Linked DNA regions of Homo sapiens: all the other regions are linked to region 1. Evidence: promoter capture Hi-C in 16 types of primary human blood cells and fetal thymus (Javierre and others, 2016). All regions are on one chromosome and are shown on one strand. The core of a region is centred on a gene start or on the middle of the fragment in contact, and the rest is flanking DNA. Distances in the headings are between cores, read along the strand shown. Region 1 holds the start of LPIN2 (lipin 2). Region 2 overlaps MYOM1 (myomesin 1). Region 3 overlaps EMILIN2 (elastin microfibril interfacer 2).

What was found. Contacts are between HindIII fragments. The CHiCAGO score rates a contact against its expected background, and 5 or more counts as called.
Region 2: a contact is called between a fragment that was not itself captured here and the fragment with the promoter of LPIN2 in region 1, in 14 of 17 cell types (naive CD4 T cells, total CD8 T cells, activated CD4 T cells and 11 more). The highest score is 20.9, in naive CD4 T cells.
Region 3: a contact is called between a fragment that was not itself captured here and the fragment with the promoter of LPIN2 in region 1, in 1 of 17 cell types (activated CD4 T cells). The highest score is 5.1, in activated CD4 T cells.

Annotation. Positions count from the first base shown.
Region 1 is chr18:3,011,599-3,015,172 of GRCh38, reverse strand. It overlaps LPIN2 (lipin 2), which reads left to right and starts at 2,029. Exons shown (of 20, transcript NM_001375808.2): 1 at 2,029-2,086. RefSeq lists a silencer at 1,639-2,588. The HindIII fragment of the contact is 8,581 bases long and covers 1-3,574 here.
Region 2 is chr18:3,145,290-3,148,863 of GRCh38, reverse strand. The region is part of intron 13 of MYOM1 (myomesin 1); the gene reads left to right. Among named protein-coding and RNA genes, the nearest start is that of MYOM1, 73 kb to the left of the region's middle. The HindIII fragment of the contact is 2,195 bases long and covers 570-2,764 here.
Region 3 is chr18:2,882,333-2,885,906 of GRCh38, reverse strand. It overlaps EMILIN2 (elastin microfibril interfacer 2), which reads right to left. Exons shown (of 8, transcript NM_032048.3): 3 at 768-943. Among named protein-coding and RNA genes, the nearest start is that of EMILIN2, 37 kb to the right of the region's middle. The HindIII fragment of the contact is 6,579 bases long and covers 1-3,574 here.

The DNA of each region.
Region 1 (3,574 bases), core at 780-3,279:
AATGGAAGAAAGGAAAGAAAATAAACGCTAACAGCCTGTTCCAGGTTGCAGACACTAACGTAGGCACTTTATAGGTTATCACGGGGAATCCACAAAACAATTCTGTAAGAAAGACACTACTATCTTTATTTTACTGACGTAGAAACTGAGGATTAAATTCTTTCTCTAGCTTTAATTTTTCTTCTCCATATTTATAAAATCCATTGAATACGGAGGGGGATATTTTAGTCCTCTTCAATTTTTATTTTACTTGTGAAGCCAAGTGAGAAGCAGTGAAATGAGGAAAATTCCTAGTGGTCTTGTGCCAGTGAAACTACCTATGTTTCTGTAGGGCCTTGATTACAGATGGGGCAAAACTTGATCGAGTTTCACAGAAAAGCAGAAGGAACTTCAGTGAAGAAGTGGTCGCCTGCTCCCTGAATCCAAGCACTGCCCAGCTACACCAGGCACTGGTGGGAAGAAACTGGGCTGCAGCTGGATCCTTCAAGGAGCAGCTTTGTGTATGCAAATGCCTATTTCAGTACCCTTAGAACTGTATAAATGATCACACACAAGATGCACCTCATAAATTAACTGCCATTTATATAGAAGTAACATAGGCTTCTGTTCATTACTTTCAATCATAGAATAGTAATAGAATAGGCTGCAAATTAAAAACCAGTGTGCACCAATAGTATATAGCACCAGCAATCCAGTTTTTTTTGTTTTTTTTTTTTTTGAGACAGAGTTTCGCTCCCAGGCTGGAGTGAAGTGGCGCAATCTCTGCTCACTGCAACCTCCGCCCCCCGGGTTCAAGTGATTCTACCGCCTCTGCCTCCTAAGTAGCTGGGATTGCAGCCAACATGCCCGGCTAATTTTTGTATTTTTAGTAGAGGCGGGGTTTTGCCACGTTGGCCAGGCTAGTCTCCAACTCCTGACCTCAGGCGATCGACCCGCCTTGGCCTCCCAAAGTGCTGGGATTACCGGCGTGAGCCACCGCGCCGGGCCCCATTTCTTTTCTTTCTGAGACGGAGTCTCTCTGTCGCCAGGCTGGAGTGCAATAGCGCCATCTCGGCTCACTGCAATCTCCGCCTCCCGGGTTCAACTGATTCTCCTGCCTCAGCCTCCTGAGAAGCTGGGATTACAGGCACGCGCCACCACGCCCGGCTGGTTTTTTGTATTTTTAGTAGAGACGGGGGTTTCACCATGTTGGCCAGGCTGGTCTTGAACTCCTGACCTCAAGTGATCCGCCTGCCTCGGCCTTCCAAAGTGCTAGGATTACAGGCGTGAGCCACCCATTTCTTAAAAAGTATATTTTAATGCTGGGGACGGTGGCTCATGCCTGTAATTCCAGTACTTTGGGAGGCCGAGGTGCGGGGATGCTTGAGCCCAGGAGTTGGAGACCAGCCGGGGTAACAGAGCGATAAAAAGAATAAACAAAAAACAACAGAACCCCGGCATATTTTTAAAAATGAGTTGTGTAATAGGATTTTTTTTTTTTCGGTGGAGATGTAAGTAAGCAAAGGAGATGTGCTACTAGTGATCAAAAGGGGATTATAAAACATTCATTCCCTAGACTTTTTTTGCACTTTAACATTCCTTTTTGGCAATTGGGCTCTCAGTCCCACGTGACCTGCCGCAGGGTTGCCATGGGGACCGGAAGAAACTTTTTTTTTTTAAAACAAAGTAAGGCTCCTGTCGCCCGAGGCACTAGAAAATCGAGGCCCCGCCCTCACTTGGCCAGGGGCCCGGGCGCGCAGCCCAGGGACTGGGAGCGGTGAGAAGCCGCACGCCTGGCGCTCGGCGGCGGGGGCGCGGCGCGCGGCCGGGAGCGCGCGTCACGTGGCTGGGGCGGGGCCTGCGCGCTGCCCGCCCGCCAGCTGCCGGCTCGGCCGCCGCAGCCGCGGCGTCCCATTCATGAGGGCCGCCCGACTCAGCTGCGGCCCAGGCGGCTTCCAAGGCAGCGGCGGCTGCGGGCGCTCCGACCCCGCGCGCGCCCCCGACCGGCCCCGCCCCCTCGGCTTCCCTCCCCGGCGGGTCCTAGCCGTCGCAGTCCAGCCGCCGCCTGCCCTCAGCCGCCCGCTGGCCGGGAGCGGAGCCCCTGTGGGTAAGTGGGCGCGGGCCGGGCTCCTCGCAGGCGTCCCTCCGGGGCTGGCGGTGAGTGTCTGCGCCTGGGGGCTTCCCTTGGCGCGGGCCCGGGGCTGTCCTGCCGGAGGCCGGGACCCTCCGGGGCGGCGCGGGTTGAGCCGCCCCTCCTCGCGCCGCGGTCCCCGCTTCCCGGTCCTCGCGTCCCAGTCCCCGCCTCGCCGCGACCGCGCCACGTAGACGCGGCCCCTACCGCCGCCGCCGCAGGACGGACCGGCGGGGTGCGCGGGGAGCCGGGGGCGTCGGGGCGTCAGTGGTGGCTGCTGAGGACTCTGAACCCGCGCAGTTCCCTCGCCGCCGCCCTGGGGATGGTTACCCGAGACCACCCCTACCCCTGGGTTTGGGGCGCGGAGGGGAGTGCGGAAGGCGCGCGGGAGGCCGCGTCTCCATCCCGCCCCCGGCCCTGCGGGAGGGGGCGCCGGGCACGTGATCTGCGGCGAGGCGGGGGCCGCCGAGTTGCTGGTGTTTCTTCCCCGCCGCGCTTTGCCCCGTACCTCCGCCTTCAAGCTGTGTGGACCGGATTCAAATGTGGTTAGTTTTCTCAAAGCCCCCCAGCCCCCGGTGCAGATCTTAATTTGTGAGGAACACGTTCAGATACAGTTTGTACTGAGAGCCTCTCTGTCCACTTCTAACGCCAGCGGATCACCATTTTCTCCACTCGCCTGAACATTTTAAGACTCTTTTCATTGAAAATTCAAGATGACATTTTTTAGGCATAATTATGCAAACCAGTACCAGAAAGATCACCCTTCCTTTCCGAAAAGTACTGGAACTCTGAATACTTGGAAATGCTTTGAAGGACTACTTAGTAAATGGCCAAACTAATTTTTAATGCACATTTGGGGCTTACCCATTTTTTTTTTAATTGAAAACGAGGCTCTAGACTTGGTGTCAAGGTAGGTCCTGTTGAATGAAGTTCTTTACCCAGTAGTGATGATGGGTGTTACTGTTTATTAAAACTTGGCCTGGCTAGATTATAATGTTTTGACAATACAAAGTCGGTTTTGAAATACATTTTGAAATATTTACGAATTATTTAGTGGCCCATACTGGTTTATGTTTTAACGGTCTGGTGTTGATCGTTCTTAGTGGCTTCAGATTGAGAAGAAGTGGCAGGTGATGCTGAAGCGGGGGAGAAGCGGCAGAGCCGGCCACACAGTGCAGGGGATGGAGACAGGTGCTGGGCTGGTCCTCCTGCAGCATCCTCAGTTGTTGGAGGGCAGTCATCCTCAGGCCGTACCCAGCCAGAGAAGAAAAAGAACAGTGTGAAGCCACGTGTGATAGCCGTCCAACATCGGCTCTTCCCTCCAATTACATTGTAGTTGATTGTGGTATGTCAGACTGAAGTATCTCTTTTATTTCGAGACAGAGTCTCACTCTGTCGCCCAGGCTGGAGTGTAGTTGCGCGATCTCCGATCACTGCAATCTCTGCCTCCTCTGTTAAAGCGAT
Region 2 (3,574 bases), core at 418-2,917, 130 kb before region 1:
TTTTTTTTTTTTTTTTTTTGGATGGAGTCTCGCTCTGTCGCCCAGGGTGGAGTGCAATGGTGCGATCTCGGCTCACTACAAGCTCCGCCTCCCGGGTTCACGCCATTCTCCTGCCTCAGCCTCCCGAGCAGCTGGGACTACAGGCGCCCGCCACTACGCCTGGCTAATTTTTGTATTTTTAGTAGAGACGGGATTTCACCGTGTTAGCCAGGATGGTCTCGATCTCCTGACCTCGTGATCCGCCCGTCTCGGCCTCCCAAAGTGCTGGGATGACAGACGTGAGCCACCGCGCCCGGCCACCATCACCATTTTCAAAATAATGAACGTATTTGTCACCCCTAAATTTCCCCTGCCCATTCGTAATTCCTCCTTTTCATGTTTCCCCATCTCCAGCCATCACTGATCTGCTTTCTGCCACTGTAGTTTACATTGTCCACAATTGTAGATCAGTTGAATCATGTTCATTTTTGTCTGTTTTTCTTTACTCAGCATAATTATTTTGAGACTTATCTACGTTGGTGTGTGTATCAATTCGTTCCAAAGTATTTATCCATTCACTGTTGAAAGCTTCTATGAACATTCTTAACTGTTTCTGTGGACATATGCTTTCATTTATGTCTTGTGTAAATACCTAGGAGTTGAATGGATGTGTTCTGTGGTAGGTGTATGCTTAATTTTTAAAGGAACTGCCAGCTGTTTTCTGAAATGATTGTACCACGTTCCCTTCCCCTCCAGCCCTACGTGAGAGTTCCACTTGCTCCCGCATTGTCACTAGCACTTAGTGTGGCCAGTCTTTTCAATTTTAGCCATTCTAGTGGGTTCATAGTGGTATTTCTTTGTGGCTTTGATTTGCATTTTACTCATAATGTCGAGCATCTTTTCATGTGTTTATTTGCCAGTTTTTGTGACATTGGGCATCTTTGTCAAATCCAGGTATTTTTCCTGTTTTTTTCCCCCTGGAAATGTTATAGCATTAGTTTTTACTTTTCACTCTGTGATGCATTTAAAATTAATTTTTTCTACATTACAAGAAGTAAGGGCCTCAATTATTACTATCGTTCATACTTGCATATGGCTATTAAATTATTTCAGCAATATCTATTGAAAAGATTGTTCTTTACCCAACGAATTTGTATTGGCACCATTGTCAAATTCAATTGATTACATATGTGTGGATCAATTTCTGGAATCTCTATTGGTCAATTTTTTTCCCCTTCCATCAATACCATACTGTCTTTATTACTATAGCTTTTCTGAGCTTCATTTTTTCATATATAAATTTTAGCATCTTCAAATCAGTATAAGTCTTCTAATCTTGTGTTGGGTTTTTCCCCCCCAAAGTTGTTTCAGCTATTCTGTCTTTACATTTCTATAAAAATTTTAAAATCAGCTTATCAACTTCTACAAAAAACATGCTGGGATTTCAGCCGAACAGCATTGAGTCCTTTGATTTATGAACATAGCCTGTATCTCCATTCATTTAGCTTTGTTTTCATTTCTCTCACCTTAGTAGTAGTTTTAGTGAGCAGGTCCTGCACATTTTTATAGATATAATCTCATACATTCGTTTGCTCCTCTTTTATCAATTCCAATCAAAATAAGATTTGTTTGAATTGAAAATAAGTTACCTTCTTTACTGCCTTTCTGTTTTTGCACAAACTCTGACAAAAAGTTAGAGTATCTGACTTTTTATATATATATATTTCTATATAATATATATATTTATCTATAATATATAATATTTATATATAAATATATATATTTATCTATAATGTATAATATTTATATATAAGATATATATTTATATATAATATATAATATTTATATATAATATTTCTGATGATGCTGTAAATGGTATTGTTTTTTATTTTAATTTGTTTTTATGCTAGTATAAAGAAACACAATTGATTTTTGTATATTGATTTTGTGTCCTGCATCCTTGCTGAACTAATTTATTAATTCTCACAAACATTAGGGTTTTTTATGAAATTTATTATGGATTTTCTATTACAGGATTATGCCATCTATAAGTAAAGATAAATTAACTTCTTCCTTTTCAATCTGGATACCTTTTATTTCTTTTTCTTTCCTTATTGCTCCATCTAGAACCTTTAGTACAATGTTGAATAGAAGTGGTAGACTGGTCATCTTTGCCTTTTCCTGATGTCAGGGGGAAAGCATTCAGTCTTTCACCATTAAGTCTAACATTAAGTGTAGGTTTTGTATAGCTATCCTTTATCAAGTTGAGGAAAATTTCTTCTACTCCTGGTTTTCTGAGAGTTTATATTAGGAAAAAGTGTTGGATTTTGTCAAATGCTTTTCCTGTATCTATTGAGACGATCGTATGATTTTTATTTTTCCATTAACATGTTGAATTACATTGATTAATTTTAGATTATTAAACCGAAATAAAATAAATAACGCAAACTAAACCTCACAGTCCTGGGTTGAATGTCACTATGTTATGCTGTGTTATCCTTTTTATACATTGCTGGAGTTTATTTGCTAAAAATTTTTAAAGGAATTTTTGTGTCTATATTCATAAAAGATATTGGTCTGTGGTTTTTCCCAGTAAAGTCTTGGTTTGGTTTTGGTATTGGGGTACTGAGTGGAAAGTATTACCATTATTTTAATTTTTTGAAAGAGCTTGTGTTAACTTTTATTATTTTTTTTAATTAAACATTCAGTATAATTTACCAGCAGAGCCATCTAGGCCTGGAGGTTTGTTTTTTGGTTTGTTTGTTTTGTTTTGTTGTGGGAAGCTTTTATACTGCAAATTCAATTTTTAAAATAAATTTAGGACTATTCAGGTTATTTACTTTTTCTTGAGTAAAATTTAATAGTTTTCATCTTTCAAGAAACTTTTTCATTCATAAAGTTGTTCATATTTTCTTATTATCCTTTTAATACCTGCAGAATCTGTAGTGGTGTCACCTCTCTCATTCCTAATATTCGTGTTTTACTTCCTTTGTCCTGACCTGACTAGAAGTTTATCAACTTTATTGATGTTCCCAAAGAAACAGCTTTTGGTTTCATTGATTTTCTATATTTTTCTTCTGTTTCCAGTTTTATTTATTTCTGTTCTTATCTTTATTATTTCCTTTTTTCTGCTTATTTGAGTTTAATTTGCTGGGTTTTTTTCTTGTTTCTTAAGGTAGAAGCTGAGGTCCTTAATTTGAAGTATTCTTTTATAACGCATGCATTTAGTGCTAAATATTTTTTTCTAAGTACTCCTTTAGCTGTATTTCACACATTTTGATCTGTTGTGTTTTCATTTTTATTTTGTGCAAAATACTTTCCAATTTTTTGATACCTTCTTTGATACATGGATTATTTGGAGTATGTTATTTAGTTACTAAATATTTGCAGATTTCCCAAGTATATTTCTCTTATTTGTTTTTAATTTAATTCTATTATGAAAATTAAATAGAACATATTTTGTGTTATTTGAATCCTTGTAGATTTTCTTGAACTTGTTTTATGGTCCAGAAAAAGATCTATCTTGGTGAATATTTAGTGTGCGCTTGAAAAGCATTGTATTTTTTTTTTTTTTTGAGATGGAGTCTCACTCTGT
Region 3 (3,574 bases), core at 328-2,827, 130 kb after region 1:
CATGGCAAAATATAATCATTTAAGCATCTAATTTCATAAGAAAACCTAGGCTGCATTTATTGTGACTGAACTTAAAAAGATGAAGTGATGGCCAGGCACAGTGGCTCACGCCTGTAATCCCAGCACTTTGGGAGGCCGAGGTGGGCAGATCACTTGAGGTCAGGAGTTGGAGACCAGCCTGGCCAACATGGTGAAACCCCATCTCTACCAAAAGTACAAAAATCAGCCGGGCATGGTGGCAGGCGCCTGTAATCCCAGCTACTCGGAGGCCAAGGCAGGAGAATTGCTTGAACCAGGTAGGCAGAGGTTGCAGTGAACCGAGATTGCGCCACTGCACTCCAGCCTGGGCGACAGAGCGAGACTCCATCTCAAAAAAATAAAAAATAAAAAACAATTTTAACCCCCCTAAATTCAGATGTATGGGCCCAAGTAAAAACAAACAGTACATCATTACATCTGAATCTCTTCACAGCTGTGCCTCCAGGTGACACAAGTCTGAACCCACTGGCATTTCCTACCCTGATGTTTAAGGCATTGGCTTTCACAACAAGCTGGCCCTAGCAAAGCAATTTACTTGCAAGGAAGTTTGTCTTACAATTGCTACTGCTCCTGAGAATAAATTTGTCACATGTGGCTACTGCAGGTATCTATGTGTGTTATTCGAAGGCCATTCAAAGCTCACCATTGTAAAGCACAAATCCTGTTGTTTGAAGGAGCACCGGAAATATTAAAGGTGGCCATACATAATAGCACAAATAAGAAGTTACCTGTGGCTTTCTTCAAGCTGTTTCGAGGCCGAGCCGGCGTGGGGCGGAGGGTCTTCACGGGGTCTTTGGGACCTTCTTGGCAATCTCCCCCTCTAAAGCCAGGACAGCACCTCCATTCCAACTGTGTCACTGTCTTATACCTAGTGACATATCTAGGTCTGAAGTTCACTCGATACCTGTGGACAGAAGGGATGGCATCTCTCTTTACTGGCTGCCGTTACAAGCAACTTCCGGCGCTAGACCCAAATAAAGAGGACTCAGGGCATGCAGGACCCTGCCTGCTCTCCAGGCTGGCCCAGAGGGGATGTTGGTCTCCTCAGTCCAGATCTGACTGGGGGGTTCAGCCTAACTCAGATCAGCCTCAGGAAGGCAGGGGCTCCCCAATCCTCCACCTGCCCTGAGCACCCGTTTCCCAGCAAGGGGAACACACAGCTTAGAAAATCTCCACCAAGACTCCCATTTGAGAAGGATACTTTTCAGCCCCCAAACTGAGCTTTTGTTTCACCAAACTTCTGTTCTACAATTCAGTTTGTGGGGATTTGTTTCAGGTGTCACTAGAGATTGTTTTGTTTTGTGTTTTAAAGAAATATTCCTGGCCGGGCACAGTGGCTCATGCCTGTAATCCCAGCACTTTGGGAGGCTGAGGCCAGCAGATCACTTGAGGCCAGGAGTTCGAGACTAGCCTGGCTAACATGGTGAAATCTAGTCTCTACAAAAAATACGAAACTTAGCCAGGTGTTGTGGCGCATGCCTGTAGTCCCAGCTACCGCTGAGGCACGAGAATTGTTTGAATCCAGAAGGCGGAGGTTGCAGTGAGCTGAGATCACGCCATTGCACTCCAGCCTGGGAGACACAGCGAGACTGTCTCAAAAAAAAGAAAAAGAGGCTGGGCGCGGTGGCTCACGCCTGTAATCTGAGCACTTTGGGAGGCCGAGGCAGGCGGATCACGAGGTCAGGAGATCGAGACCATCCTGGCTAACACGGTGAAACCCCGTCTCTACTAAAAATACAAAAACATTAGCCGGGCGTGATGGCGTGCGCCTGTAGTCCCAGCTCCTTGGGAGGCTGAGGCAGGAGAATGGCGTGAACCCGGGAGGTGGAGCTTGCAGTGAGCCGAGATCGCGCCACTGCACTCCAGCCTGGGTGACAGAGCAAGACTCCAACTCAAAAAAAATAAAAAGAAAGAAAGAAACATCCCTGGCACCCTGCTCTCCATCATGTCTGTGTGTTTACCGCTGCACCTCCCTTTCCTGATGCTAGCAAAGGTAGCCACCAGCTTTTGCAGATGGCAGCTCACACTATTTGTGTCCACTTTTTACAAAGATGCCCTGGTTCATACTGTCAATGACAGAAATCAGGAAGCAGAATTGGAAGCACTCAAAAAGTCCTGTTGACAGTGCACATCCCCTCATGCCCTGGAATATCACACAGAGAGCTTTGCAGTGAGCTGGAAAGTCCTCCAGACTCAAGGCCGGGCCTGGGCCCACAACAGACTTTGACAGCCCTGCAGTCCCGGGCTCACCAGGGAAGGAGCCAGGAGTTCAGCCCCCGCAGCGGCCCCTGCTCACAGCACAGGCAAAAGCCACAGCCACACAGGATGGGGCCTCCCTACTTCAGCCCAATTGTGATTTCCTGCCTTGCAAATCATCTCTCTTGAAGCTCTTCAGCTCCTCTTCATTTCTTACACCAGCACCAGCAGCTGGCCTTCTTCTTGAGCCAATTCCCAGAAAGCAATAGGCTGAGTGTCACTTTTTCAGGGTTGCTGAGAGCTGCCCATGGGGGGAGGCGGGACAATAGCAGCAGCGGGGTTACCCAGCAAAGCAACTCCCTCCCAAGCACCAGCCCTGTGGCAGGTGGACTTCAAAGTTACCTCCCTGAGGAAAGCACAAATCATGTGCTGGACCTTTGACATCCTCCCCGAGGGTCACACACTGACAATTACACTCTGGGTATAGGATCCACCCCGCTGGGACTGGCTAGGCACCCTGCAGAATCCCAAGAGGGCCCTGCCGACAGCTAGGACCCGCCAAGCCCATTAGACCTCCTAGCACCTTCCACTGTCCCTGTTTCCTTTGGTTTTTGTTGTGTTTTTTGTTTTGTAGAGATAAGTATCACTTGGTCGCCCAGGCTGGAGTGCAGTGGTACAATCATGGTACACTGCAACCTCAAACTCCTGGGCTCAAGTGATCCTCCACCTCGGCCTCCCAAAATGCTGAGATTACAGGCACCATGCCTGGGTCATATTTTTTTTTTTTTGAGATGATGTTTCACTCTCGTTGCCCAGGCTGGAGTACAATGGCGCGATCTCGGCTCACTGCAACCTCTGCCTCCCGGGTTCAAGCGATTCGCCTGCCTCAGCCTCCCAAGTAGCTGGGATTACAGGCACCCACCACCATGCCTGGTTATTTTTTGTATTTTTAGTAGAGACATAGTTTCACCATGTTGGCTGGGCTGGTCTTGAACTCCTGACCTCAGGTGATCTACCCACCCTTTAGCCCCCAAAGTGCTGGGATTACAGGTGTGAGCCACTGTGCCCAGCCAATTTAAAAAAATTTTTTTAAGAGATAGGGTCTCACTATGTTGCCCAGGCTGGTCTCGAGCCCATGGCCTCAAGTGATCCCCCAACCTCAAAGTGCTGGGATTACAGGCATGAGCCACCACACCCGGCCTGTTTGCCTTGATCTTTAGGGCAGTGGTTCTTAGCCTGAGCCATCAGAATCACCCAGGAAACTGTGAAAAAATACCCACGCCTGGGTCTCACCCTCAGAGGTTTTGATTTAAGGGGTCTGGGGTGGCAGCCAGGCATG